4 separate regions of the Homo sapiens genome follow, and all the other regions are linked to region 3. Evidence: promoter capture Hi-C in human tissues and cell types (Jung and others, 2019). All regions are on one chromosome and are shown on one strand. The core of a region is centred on a gene start or on the middle of the fragment in contact, and the rest is flanking DNA. Distances in the headings are between cores, read along the strand shown.

Region 1 (3,001 bases), core at 185-2,684, 180 kb after region 3:
TCGCTTGAATCTGGGAGGCGGAGGTTGCAGTGAGCCAAGATTGTGCCACTGCACTCTAGCCTGGGCGAAAGAGTGAGATTCCATCTCAAAAGAAAAAAAAAAAGTAAACTACAAAGTTGATTATAACTGTTTGAAACATGCATCCTTTCACACATCATAAGACCAGTGCACAAAAAGAGTGCACTTCATGCCTGTATATTTTAAAGAATAGAATGAACACTGGGTACCCGCTAGCTCACTTGAGGCATAGATCATCACCAGGTACCTAGAGGCCTCCTCTGGGCTTACCCTGGTCTCTTTGCCTCAGAGGTTGTCACTGATGTGAAAGCTGCCCATCTTGATCCTGTAGTCAGCCATGAGGGCTTGTGGCCTTAAATGCTGCCTTTTTTTCTTGTCTTTGATGTTTATGTAAATGATGTCTTTGTGTACTTTGGGACTTTCTTGCTCAACACTGTTATTGAAATTTACCTGTGTAGTGGCAGGAAGTTGTACTTCATTCTTTTTCACTGCTATGTGTTGTGTCTTTGGTATAACTGCTACACAACTGATTGAGGCAATGGTACTGCTTTGAACATCCTCGTGCCTATTTTCTGGTGCAAAAGTGTGAGAGTTTCAAGGTGCCTGGGAGTGGGGTTGTTGGGTCTGAAGGTATGCACATTTTTAACTTTACAAGGTGCTGCCAAATTGTTTCCAAAGTGGTCACACCCATTTCCCAAGTTCCATAGTGGGTGCCCCACATTATCCCCAGTGCTTGATAATTTTGTACGCACCCTTTTCAGGTTAGAAAATCTCTCTGGGGCCGGGCACGGTGGCTCACTTCTGTAATCCCAGCACTTTGGGAGGCCGAGACGGGTGTAGGTCAGGAGATCGAGACCATCCTGGCTAACACGGTGAAACCTTGTCTCTACTAAAAATACAAAAAATTAGCCGGGCGTAGTGGTGGGCTCCTGTAGTCCCAGCTACTCGGGAGGCTGAGGCAGGAGATGGCATGAGAGGCGGAGCTTGCAGTGAGCCGAGATCGTGCCACTGCACTCCAGCCCAGGCGACTGAGCAAGACTCTGTCTCAAAAAAAAAATAAGAAAATCTCTCACGTCACCCTCCAGGGTAATAGCTGTCCATTACTTATTCCTTAGTTGGCAAAGTCTATAGTAACAAGGTGCTGTGGATTCAGTAGCACCTTTCCCCCCGTTCTAGTGCCACTGCATTATTTATTTATTTATTTATTTATTTATTTATTTCTATTTTTTTTTTTGAGACAAAGTCTCGCTCTGTCACCCAGGCTGGAGTGCAGTGGCGTGATCTCAGCTCACTGCAACCTCCACCTCCTGGGTTCCAGCAATTCTCCTGCCTCAGCCTCCCAAGTAGCTGGGACTACAGGTGCACGCCACCACGTCCGGCTAATTTTTGTATTTTTTTTGTAGAGACGGGGTTTCACCATATTCACCAGGCTGGTTTCGAACTCCTGACCTCGTGATCTGCCCGCCTTGGCCTCCCAAAGTGCTGGGATTACAGGCGCAAGCCACTGCACCCAGCCGCCAGTGCATTTTTTAAAAAAACGTTTTTATTTTGAAGTAATTATAGATCCACAGGAAGTAGGGGGCAATACACAGGGACATCCTGTGTATTCATTACCCAGCATCCTCCATCTTGCTTAACTATAGTACAATAACACAGACTGAAAATTCTCGGTGCCACAGCCACAGAGGTCCTTCAGACAGCACCAGTTGTGCATGTAGTGAGTGTGAGTGTGTGTGTGTGTGTGTGTGTGTGTTTGTGTTTGTGAATGCAGTCTTACCATGGGTAGCTTTGTGGAACCACCACCACAGTCAGGACACAGAATTGCTCCTTCACTGCAAGGCACCCTCATGCTTCCTTTCATAGCTACACTGACATCCTTCCCACCCAATCTGCAACCCCTTGTGTCTTTGTCCACTTTGTGCTGCTGTAACACCTGAGACTAGGTTGTTTATAAAGAATAGAAGAAATTTATTCTCTAACAGCTCTAGAGGCTGTAAGTCCAAATCATGGCACCAGCATTTGGTCTGGTGAGGGCCTTCTTGCTGTGTCCTCACATGGCATAAGGCAGAAGGACAAAAAGGAATGAACTTTCCTTCAGAAGGCCAGGAAAGAGGTTAACCCACTCCCACAAGCCTTTTTATAGCGACATGAATTCATTCCTGATGGTGGATCCCTCACAACCTAAACACTTTCCCAAAGACCCCACCACCCAACACTGTTGCACTGGGGAATAAGTTTCCAACACATGAATTTTGGAGGGACAAAAACATTCAAGCCACAGCACTGGCAACCACTGATCTGTCCCCTGTCTTTCTAATTATTATTTCAAGAATGTCATATAAATGGAATCTATGGTATATAACCTTTTGAGTTTTGTTTAACCTACCATGATTCCCCTGAGATCCATCCAGGTTGTTTTGTATATTAATATGTTATTCCTTTTTATTGCTGGGCAGTATCCCATGGTATAGAGGTACCAGAGTTTATTTGTTGAAGGACATTTGGATGATTTCCAGGTTGGGGCTATTATACATAAAACTCGCTATGTACATTCATGTATAGGTTTTTGTGTGAACAGAGTTTTAATTTCTCTGGGATAATTGCACTTACAAATGCAGTTGTTGGTTTGCATGGTAGTTGCAGATATACTCTTATAAGAGACTGTCAAACTGTTTTCCAAAGTGGCTGTACCATTTTACTAGTAGGACTTTTAAAGTAGCGTGTGTGTGTGTGTATGTATTTTTTTTGAGGTATGGTCTGGGTCTGCTGCCCAGGTTGGAGTGCAGTGGCTTGATCACAGATCACTGCAACTTCTACCTCCTGGCTAAAGCAATCCTCCTGCCTCAGCCTCCCAAGTAGCTAGGACTACAGGTGCGTACCTCCATGCATGGCTAATTTTTGCTTTTCTGTTTTTGTAGAGACTGGGTTTCGTCATGTTGCTCAGGCTGGTCTTGAACCCCTGAGCTCAAGCAATCCTCCCACC
Region 2 (2,742 bases), core at 7-2,506, 160 kb after region 3:
TTGTTTGTTTGTTTGTTTGTTTGTTTGTTTGAGATGGAGTTTCATTCTTGTTGCCCAGGCTGGAGTGCAATGGCGTGATCTTGGCTCACCGTTGCAACCTCTGCCTCTTGGGTTCAAGCGATTCTCCTGCCTCAGCCTCCCAAGTAGCTGGGATTACAGGCATGCACCACCACGCCCAGCTACTTTTGTATATTTAGTAGAGACGGGGTTTCTCCATGTTGGTCAGGCTGGTCTTGAACTTCCGACCTCAGGTGATCCACCCACCTTGGCCTCCCAAAGTGCTGGGATTACAGGTGTGAGCCACCGTGCCCAGCTGATCTTTTGTTACAGGTCCATGGGATTCTGTTTATTTTTATTTTCTAGTCTTTTATATTTTTATTTTTTAGTGGGTCTCACTATGTTACTCAGGCTGGTCTTGAACCCCTGGGCTCAAGTGATTCTCCCATCTTAGCCTCCAGAGTAGCTGAAACTACAAGCACATGCCACCATGCCCTGCCACAGCCATTGTTCTCTCTGTTGTCCAAATTGGCTAATTTCTGTTGTCTGTCTTCCAGTTCACTGATTCTTTCCTTGACCTCCATTATTATTTTCACTGTAACTTCCATTCTGCTGTTGAGTATATCCAACTGAGTTTTTTTTTTTTTTTTTTTTTTTTTTGAGACAGGGTCTCACCTCTGTTGCCCAGGCTGGAGTGTAGTGGTATGATCACAGCTCACTGCAACCTCTGCCTCCTAGGCTCAAGCAATCCTCCCACATCCGCCTCCCAAGAAGCTGGGACTACAGGTGCATGCCACCGTGTCTTGCGAATTTATTTTTGGTATTTTTGGTAGAGACGGGGATTTTACCATATTGCCCAGGCTGGTCTTGAACTCCTGAGCTCAAGTGATCTGCCCACCTCAGCTTCTCTAAAGTGCTGGGATTACAGGTGTGAGCCACCACCCCCAGCCCAACTGAGCTTTTTAATTTGGTTATTGTATTTTTTAAGTTCTAAAATAAGTTTTTGGTTCTCTTTTTTTGAGACTGAGTCTCGCTCTGTTGCCCAGGCTGGAGTACAGTGGTGTTATCACAGCTCACTGCAACCTCCGCTCCCTGGGTTCAAGTGATCCTTATGCCTCAGCCTCCTGAGGAGCTGGGATTACAGGCATCTGCCACCACGCCCGGCTAATTTTTGTATTTTTAGTAGAGATGGGGTTTCACCATGTTGGTCAGGCTGGTCTTGAACTTCTGACCTCGTGATCTGCCCGCCTCAGCCTCCCAGACTGCTGGGATTACAGGCGTGAGCCACCGTGCCTGGCTGCTAATTTTGTATTTTTAGTAGAGACGGGGTTTTGCCATGTTGGCCAGGCTGGTTTCAAACTCCTGGCCTCAAGTGATCTGCCTGCCTCGGCCTCCCAAAGTACTGGAATTACAGTCATGAGACACTACGCCTGGCCTTGGGTCTTTTTTTATACCTTCTATTTTTTTGTCAATACTTTCTTTGTTTAGACTTCTTGTTTTTTATTTCACACATGCTCATAATTGCTGCTTGTAGCACTTTTCTGATGGCTGCTCTAAAATCTTTGTTATACAGTTTCAGCATGTCTGTCATCTTGGTGTTGGCATCTGTTAATTGTCTTTTTTCATTCATATTGAGATTTCACTGGCCTTTAGTGTGGCGAGTGGCTTCTGATTGGAATCTGGACTTTTAGATATTGTGTGTGAGACTCTGGGTCTCATTTAGGCCTTCTGATTTTGCTGGCTTCTCAGGACTCTGGCAGGGAAAGTGGTGGTGTTGGGGCTCGTTTCTGCTAGGTAAGGGTAGAAGTCGAGATTCACCACCAGGCCTTGTGTGGACCACCTAAGGTGGTCCTTGTTACTCATGGGTGGAAATGCTCCCTCCATGTCCTCCGCTGACGCCAAGGAAAAGTAGCATCATTCTCATTGGGTGGTGGTGGAATTCCTGACTCCACCAGGCTGCCTCTGATACCACTGCAATGGAGAGGGGAGGGGCACCTCTTTACTGCTGAGTTGGGGGTAGAAGTCCAGATTTCACTCTCCACTGACTCTGGCAGTTGCTCCTTACTGCTGAGTGAGGGTGAAAGTCCCAGCTCCCTGTTTGGCCTTCTGTGAAACCACCCCATTGGGTTTGGGGTGCCTCATTATAGCCTGACAAGCCAGGAAGTACAGGCTCACCCCTCAACCTTTACTCATGCGGCGGAAATGTGGCGGAAACGTGGGCTGTGGCTTTCCTGCCTGTGTGGCTAGAGTAAGGCAGTTATTGTCTAAATATTTTCTCACTCACTAGGTTGCCCTTTTCTTAGTCCTTTGACTAGGGAGAGCCGACCTTTGTTGGAGCTTTTCTTGTCTTTGCCCACTGGCATTTTTGGGTCGCTTCTTCTCCAGCTACAAATCTGGGATAATAAGGCAAAAGGAATGCCCAAGGAAGCCACCACCGTGACGTTGCTCAGGTCCTGAGGTCCCTTGCTAGTCTGCCTTCTCTCTACCTTTTAGTGTCTTCTCATTTTTTTTTGAGACGGAATCTCGCTCTGTCACCCAGGCTGGAGTGCAGTGGCACGATCTTGGCTCACTGCAAACTCCGCCTCCCGGGTTCATGCCATTCTCCTGCCTCAGCCTCCCGAGTAGCTGGGACTACAGGCGTCTGCCACTATGCCTGGCTAATTTTTGTATTTTTAGTGGAGACAGTTTCACCATGTTAGCAAGGATGGTCTCTATCTCCTGACCTCGTGATCTGCCTGCCTCAGC
Region 3 (2,925 bases), core at 390-2,889:
GGGGCAACAACATACTATGGTCCACAGGTGTTTGAGGAGAACCGTGTGTGTGCAGTGTTGAGGGAGAGGGGATAAGACTCATGTCTGAAATCTAGTCTCTCTGACTCCCAAGTTTGTGGCCCTGAAATGTGAAATAAAGACTGAGTTGGGTGATTAAAACTGCTTCCTTGGCCTGGGGTGGTGGCTCACGCTGTAATCCCAGCACTTTGGGAGGCTGAGGCGGGCGGATCACTTGAGGTCAGGAGTTTAAGACCAGCCTGGCCAACGTGGCAAAACCTCGTCTCTACTAAAAATATAAAACTCAGCTGGGCATGGTGGCCCATGCCTGTAATCCCAGCTACTCGGGAGGCTGAGGCAGGAGAATCACTTTAACCCGGGAAGCAGAGGTTGCAGTGAGCCGAGATGCCACCACTGCCCTCCAGCCTGGGGGATAGAGCGAGACTCTGCCTCCAAAAAAAAAAAATGCTTCCTTGAAGAATGTCAGCCTCATAGATTAAAATCCTAATTTATTTAAATCTTTAAAAACAAGCTATTTATAATCTGTCAATTATAAATAAACAAGTTAATTACGAAAAAAAAAAAAGAGCTACTTTTAGCTTGCAGCACTTCTTAGGGTAACGTGCTCGCCTTACAGATCCAAAGAGTCTGCTTCGGGCCTCCCTTCTCTTTGCCACCCTCCTTTGTCTGGCCTTCCCGATTAATTAAATATTAATCTACTCATGCCTTTTCTCCAGATTCCTCTTCAGACAGAAGAGGTTGAGCTGTGAGAACTGATCTCATTCTTAACCTGATTCTTATTCCCCATTCTGACCCTAGTATGTGACTGCCATTGCCAACAAAACCCCAGCGATGGACTCCATTACCTTTCTCTGGTTGTGCCTGGTCTTTCAACATGGGCATTAGAAAGGCACACAATATTGCAAACCTTTTGATTTTATCTAGGGTAATAATACTTAGTAACAGTAACAATAGCAGCAACAACTGATCTCATATATTTAATGCAATCCTAGAAGGTAGTTATCATTTTTATTACCCACCTTTATCTTCTCCATCCTCATAACTAGGATGGAGACACTGAGGCTCAGAGAGGACAGGTTGCCTGCTCGAGACCATATAGCTCCTAAGTACCAGAGTCAATGTTTGAACCGAGTCTTACCTGCAGTAGGAGAATTATCTCAGCATGACTTTGAAACTCTTTCTGTGAGCTGCCCAATATGTTTTGCCTGGGCCCTTTGACTACAGTGAGATTTCTGGTTAGTATTGTGAAGCAGTTAAATAACTTAAATTTACATTAAACATTTCTGGTTTTACTTTGATGATGACTTAAGAAAATGAATATAAACATATTTAGCATCATTGGGATAGCCAGTTTGTAACTGAACAGATATAAACATAAGAAGTTTGCATCTTATTTTATATTCATGAATATTCAGAAGCCATATATAACAACAATAATTAAAGTGCAATACCAGTAATAGTCCACATATTACTTAAATTTGACTAACAGTATTCTTGTTGTTCTAGAAATGAGATGACCAGCTCTTTCAGAATATACAGCAACTGCCTCCACATAAAGCAGTGCCAGGTTTAGGAGATTTACGGTAAAGCCATGTTTCCAAGGAGGTCTGTACAAAAAGCCAGACTTCTGCTGGCAGTTACTGAGAGAGATAGGCTTTCCATCCATGGCAGCCATTTACTTTTGCTCTGGGAGACGTTTGTAATAGAAAAGGCACAACTGGGGTATTTATTCATTCCCCCCGTTCCTCTAGTGTTTGGTGGCGTTGCCGTTGCAAGTGCGCAGGGCTAAAATGGACTGGTTATCTTAGGATCATGGAAAACCTGGAATCAAGGCTCAAGAATGCCCCCTATTTTCGTTGTGAGAAGGGAACCGATTCCATCCCTCTATGCCGGAAGTGTGAGACGTGTGTCTTAGCCTGGAAGATCTTCTCTACCAAAGAGTGGTTCTGCAGGATCAATGACATATCACAGAGGAGGTTTCTAGTTGGCATTCTGAAGCAGTTAAATAGCTTATATTTGTTACACTATTTCCAAAATATCCTTCAGACCACACAGGGAAAGGATTTCATCTATAACAGGTCCCGGATCAACCTCAGCAAGAAAGAGGGGAAAGTTGTGAAGTCCTCCTTGAACCAAATGTTGGATAAAACAGTAGAACAGAAGATGAAAGAGATCTTGTACTGGTTTGCGAACAGCACCCAGTGGACCAAGGCGAATTATACTCTCTTACTGCTGCAGATGTGCAACCCCAAATTACTGCTCACTGCTGCCAATGTGATCAGAGTCCTGTTTCTGAGAGAGGAGAACAATATCTCAGGTAAACAAGGCCACAGGCAGAGACTAGAGGGCCCCCGAAGACCAGAAGGCAAGGCTTCAGAAATCTGTAAGGAACTGCAGTTGTAGACAACATAGGTAGACAGAGATTGCACAGAACTCAGCATAGGTTTTTTGAACTGACACCTTGTCCTGACACCCGATCCTGTTTACCAAAGGAGAAATGACTGAGTGTAACTTCCTTCTTGAAAATGATCAATGCAGGAGGAAGTACACAACTTTTAACTCACAAGCATTTATCATGGATTTCTGCATCTCATAGGCCCAGAAATGGCTGGTCCCTGCCCCTGACCCCTTAATGCTGGTGTCGTTCCTGCTTTAGGGATTGGACTGAGCTCGAGAGGGTTGTAAAGGGGAAGCTTTTGTTTTTCTCTTCAGCTGCCCTGCACAGAAACCAGACCAAGAAGTCAAAACTTAGGGCTTTTTTTTTTTTTTTCATTCACTCTACCATGCTCCTTGCTTATCCATGAAATGAAACCTTAAAGTAGAGTTTCTCCAAGGCTGGAGATAGCTTAAGGGCCAAATAAGTCTAGGGTGGTAGTTCTCCAGCTGTGGCTTGTATCAGGATCTCCA
Region 4 (2,941 bases), core at 17-2,516, 200 kb after region 3:
TTCTGCTCTGCAAAAGACAGTGTCAAGAGAATGAAAAGACACAGACTGGGAGAAAATAGTTCCCAAAGACATATCTGATAAAGAAGTGTTGTTCAAAATATAGAAAGAACTGGCCACGTGCTGCGGCTCATGCCTGTAATCCCAGCACTTTGGGAGGCCGAGGCAGGCAGATCACGAGGTCAGGAGATCGAGACCATCCTGGCTAACACGGTGAAACCCCATCTCTACTGAAAATATAAAAAATTAGCTGGGCGTGGTGGCAGGCGCCTGTAGTCCCAGCTACTTGGGAGGCTGAGGTAGAAGGATTGCTTGAGCCCAGGAGGTGCAGGTTGCAGTGAGCTGAGATCACATCACTGCACTCCAGCCTGGGCAACAGAGCAGGACCCTGTCAAAAAACCAAAACAACAATAACAAAGCAAAAGAAAAAAAATTAAATAAGAAAACAATTTTAAAATGTGTGAAAGATCTGATCAGACATATCATCGAATAAAATATAAAGATGGCAGATAAGCATGTGAGATGCTCAACATTATATGTCATCATGGAATTGCAAATTCAAACAACAGAGAGACACCACCGCAAGCCCATTAGAGTGGCCAAAATCCAGAACACTGACAACGCCAAATGCTGGGGAGGATGTGGAGCAACAGGAACTCTCATTCATTGCTGGTGGGAATGCAAAATGGTATAGCTACTTTGTTGTTGTTGTTGTTGTTGTTGTTGTTTTGAGACAGAGTCTCACTCTGTAGCCCAGGCTGAAGTGCAGTGGCACGATCTTGCTCATTGCTACCTCTGCCTCCCGGGTCCTGGTTCAAGCAATTCTGCCTCAGCGTCCTGAGTAGCTGGGATTACAGGCATGTGCCACCATGCCCAGCTAATTTTTGTATTTTTAGTAGAGAAGAGGTTTCACCATCTTGGCCAGGCTGGTCTCCAACTCCCGACCTCAGGTGATCCACCTGCCTTGGCCTCCCAAAGTGCTGGGATTACAGGAGTGAGCCACCGCACCGGCCTGTTGTTTTTTGTTTGTTTGTTTGTTTTTTGAGACGGAGTCTTGCTCTGTCGCCCAGGCTGGAATGCAGTGGCGCAATCTCAGCTCACTGCAACCTCCACCTTCTGGATTCAAATGATTCTTGTGCCTCAGTCTCCTGAGTAACTACGACTACAGGCTCGTGCCCCAGGCCCAGCTAATTTTTGTATTTTTAGTAGAGACAGGGTTTCTCCATGTTGATCAGGCCGGTCTTAAACTCCTGACCTCAGGTGATCCTCCCACTTCAGCCTCCCAAAGTGCTGGGATTACAGGCGTGAGCCACCGCGCCTGGCCGGTATAGCTACTTTGGAAGACAGTTTGGAAGTTTCTTACAAATCTAAATGTGCTTTGATGCAAGTATATTTGAATCCCTTTCCATCTGATAACTGAGCAAAATAATAATTTTTTAAAAAGCATAAAAACTAAGCTTACACTTACCATATGATTCAGCAGTTACTCTTGAGTATTTATTCAAAGGAGTTGAAAACTTACGTCCACACAAAAACCTGTGCATGGATGTTTACTCATTATGAATTCAGCTTTATTCATAATTACCAAAACTTTGGTAGATGTCCTTAAGTAGGTGAATGAATAAATAAATCATAGTATCTAGATAATGGAATATTATTCAGTGCTAAAAAGAAATGAGCTACCAAGCCATGAACACATGGAGGAAACAGAAATACAGATGACTAAGTCAAAGAAGCCTTTTGAAAAGGCTACAAAGTGTTTGATTACAGCTATATGACATTTTGGAAAAGGCAAAACCGTGGGAACAGAAAATGATCAGTGGTTGCCAAGGGTTAGGGAGGAGAGAGGGAAGGATAGGGAGAATGCAGGCGACTTTTAGGGCAGTGAAACTACTCTGTATGACATTATAGTGGTGGATGCATGTCAGTATATGTTTATCCAAACACATAGAATACAACACCAAGCGTGAACCCTAATGTAATGTATGTGCTTTGGGAGATGTATCAATGCAGGCTCATCAGTTGTAACAAGCATAACAACTTTTGGTTGGGGATTTTGATAATGGCAGTGGCTATGCATGTGTGGGTCAGGATATTTCTCTACCAAGGAAGGTAGACATACCTTCAACAGCCAACAATTACATGAAAAGATGTTCAACATTACTAGTCCTTAGGGAAATGCAAATCAAAACCACAATGAAATGCTACTTCACGCCTACTAGGACGGCTATCATAATAATGTCAAAATGCAGCCTGGGCAACACAGTGAAACTCCATCTCTACCAGAAATACAAAAATTAGCTGCGTGTGTGACATGCACGTGTGGTCCCAGCTACTTGGTGGGCTGAGGCAAGAGGATCCCTTGAGCCCAGGAGGCAGAAGTTGCAGTGAGTCCAGATCGTGCCACTGCACTCCAGCCTGGGCTGTAAAGTAAAACTCTGACTGAAAAAAAAAATGTAAAAATGGACAATAACAAGTGTTCATGAGAATGTGGAGAAACTGGGGGTCTAGTGCGTTGCTGGTGGGAATGTAAAATGGTGCAGCTCTTCTGGAAGACAGTTTGGCCAATCCTCAAAGTTTAACATAGAATACCACCCAGCAATTCCACTCATAAATATATGCCCAAAGGAATTGAAAGTAGGGCTTCTTTCAAAGTACTATTAGAAGTAAAAAAAGAAAAAAATTGGCTGGGTGAGGTGGCTCACATCCGTAATTCCAGCACTGTGGGAGGCTGGGGTGGTGGAGCACTTGGGGATAGGAGTTTGAGACCAGCCTGGCCAACCTGACAAAACCCTGTCTCTACTCAAAATACAGAATTTAGCCTGTAATCCCAGCCACTTGGGAGTCTGAGGCATGAGAATCACCTGAGCCCGGGAGGTGGAGGTTGGTTGCTGTGAGCCTAGACTGCGCTCCTGCACTCCAGCCTAGGTGACAGAGTGAGATT

What was found. The method cuts DNA at HindIII sites, captures the fragments that hold promoters and counts their contacts. A contact is called where the count stands out against the background at its distance.
Region 1: a fragment that was not itself captured here is called in contact with the fragment with the promoter of FBXW10 in region 3 in 3 of the 25 tissues and cell types used here (lymphoblastoid cells, mesenchymal stem cells and mesendoderm cells).
Region 2: a fragment that was not itself captured here is called in contact with the fragment with the promoter of FBXW10 in region 3 in 2 of the 25 tissues and cell types used here (dorsolateral prefrontal cortex and mesenchymal stem cells).
Region 4: a fragment that was not itself captured here is called in contact with the fragment with the promoter of FBXW10 in region 3 in 5 of the 25 tissues and cell types used here (adrenal gland, dorsolateral prefrontal cortex, lymphoblastoid cells and 2 more).

Annotation. Positions count from the first base shown.
Region 1 is chr17:18,925,033-18,928,033 of GRCh38, forward strand. The region is part of intron 10 of PRPSAP2 (phosphoribosyl pyrophosphate synthetase associated protein 2); the gene reads left to right. Among named protein-coding and RNA genes, the nearest start is that of SLC5A10, 26 kb to the right of the region's middle. The HindIII fragment of the contact is 7,921 bases long and covers 1-3,001 here.
Region 2 is chr17:18,898,889-18,901,630 of GRCh38, forward strand. All of the region lies in intron 8 of PRPSAP2 (phosphoribosyl pyrophosphate synthetase associated protein 2), which reads left to right. Among named protein-coding and RNA genes, the nearest start is that of PRPSAP2, 42 kb to the left of the region's middle. RefSeq lists an enhancer at 1,795-1,844. The HindIII fragment of the contact is 5,398 bases long and covers 1-2,742 here.
Region 3 is chr17:18,742,415-18,745,339 of GRCh38, forward strand. FBXW10 (F-box and WD repeat domain containing 10) reads left to right here and starts at 1,640. Exons shown (of 14, transcript NM_001267585.2): 1 at 1,640-2,335. The coding sequence starts at 1,831. The HindIII fragment of the contact is 4,270 bases long and covers 1-2,925 here.
Region 4 is chr17:18,942,646-18,945,586 of GRCh38, forward strand. LOC124904114 (small nucleolar RNA MBII-202) reads left to right here and starts at 1,354; the gene lies at 1,354-1,428. The HindIII fragment of the contact is 4,914 bases long and covers 1-2,941 here.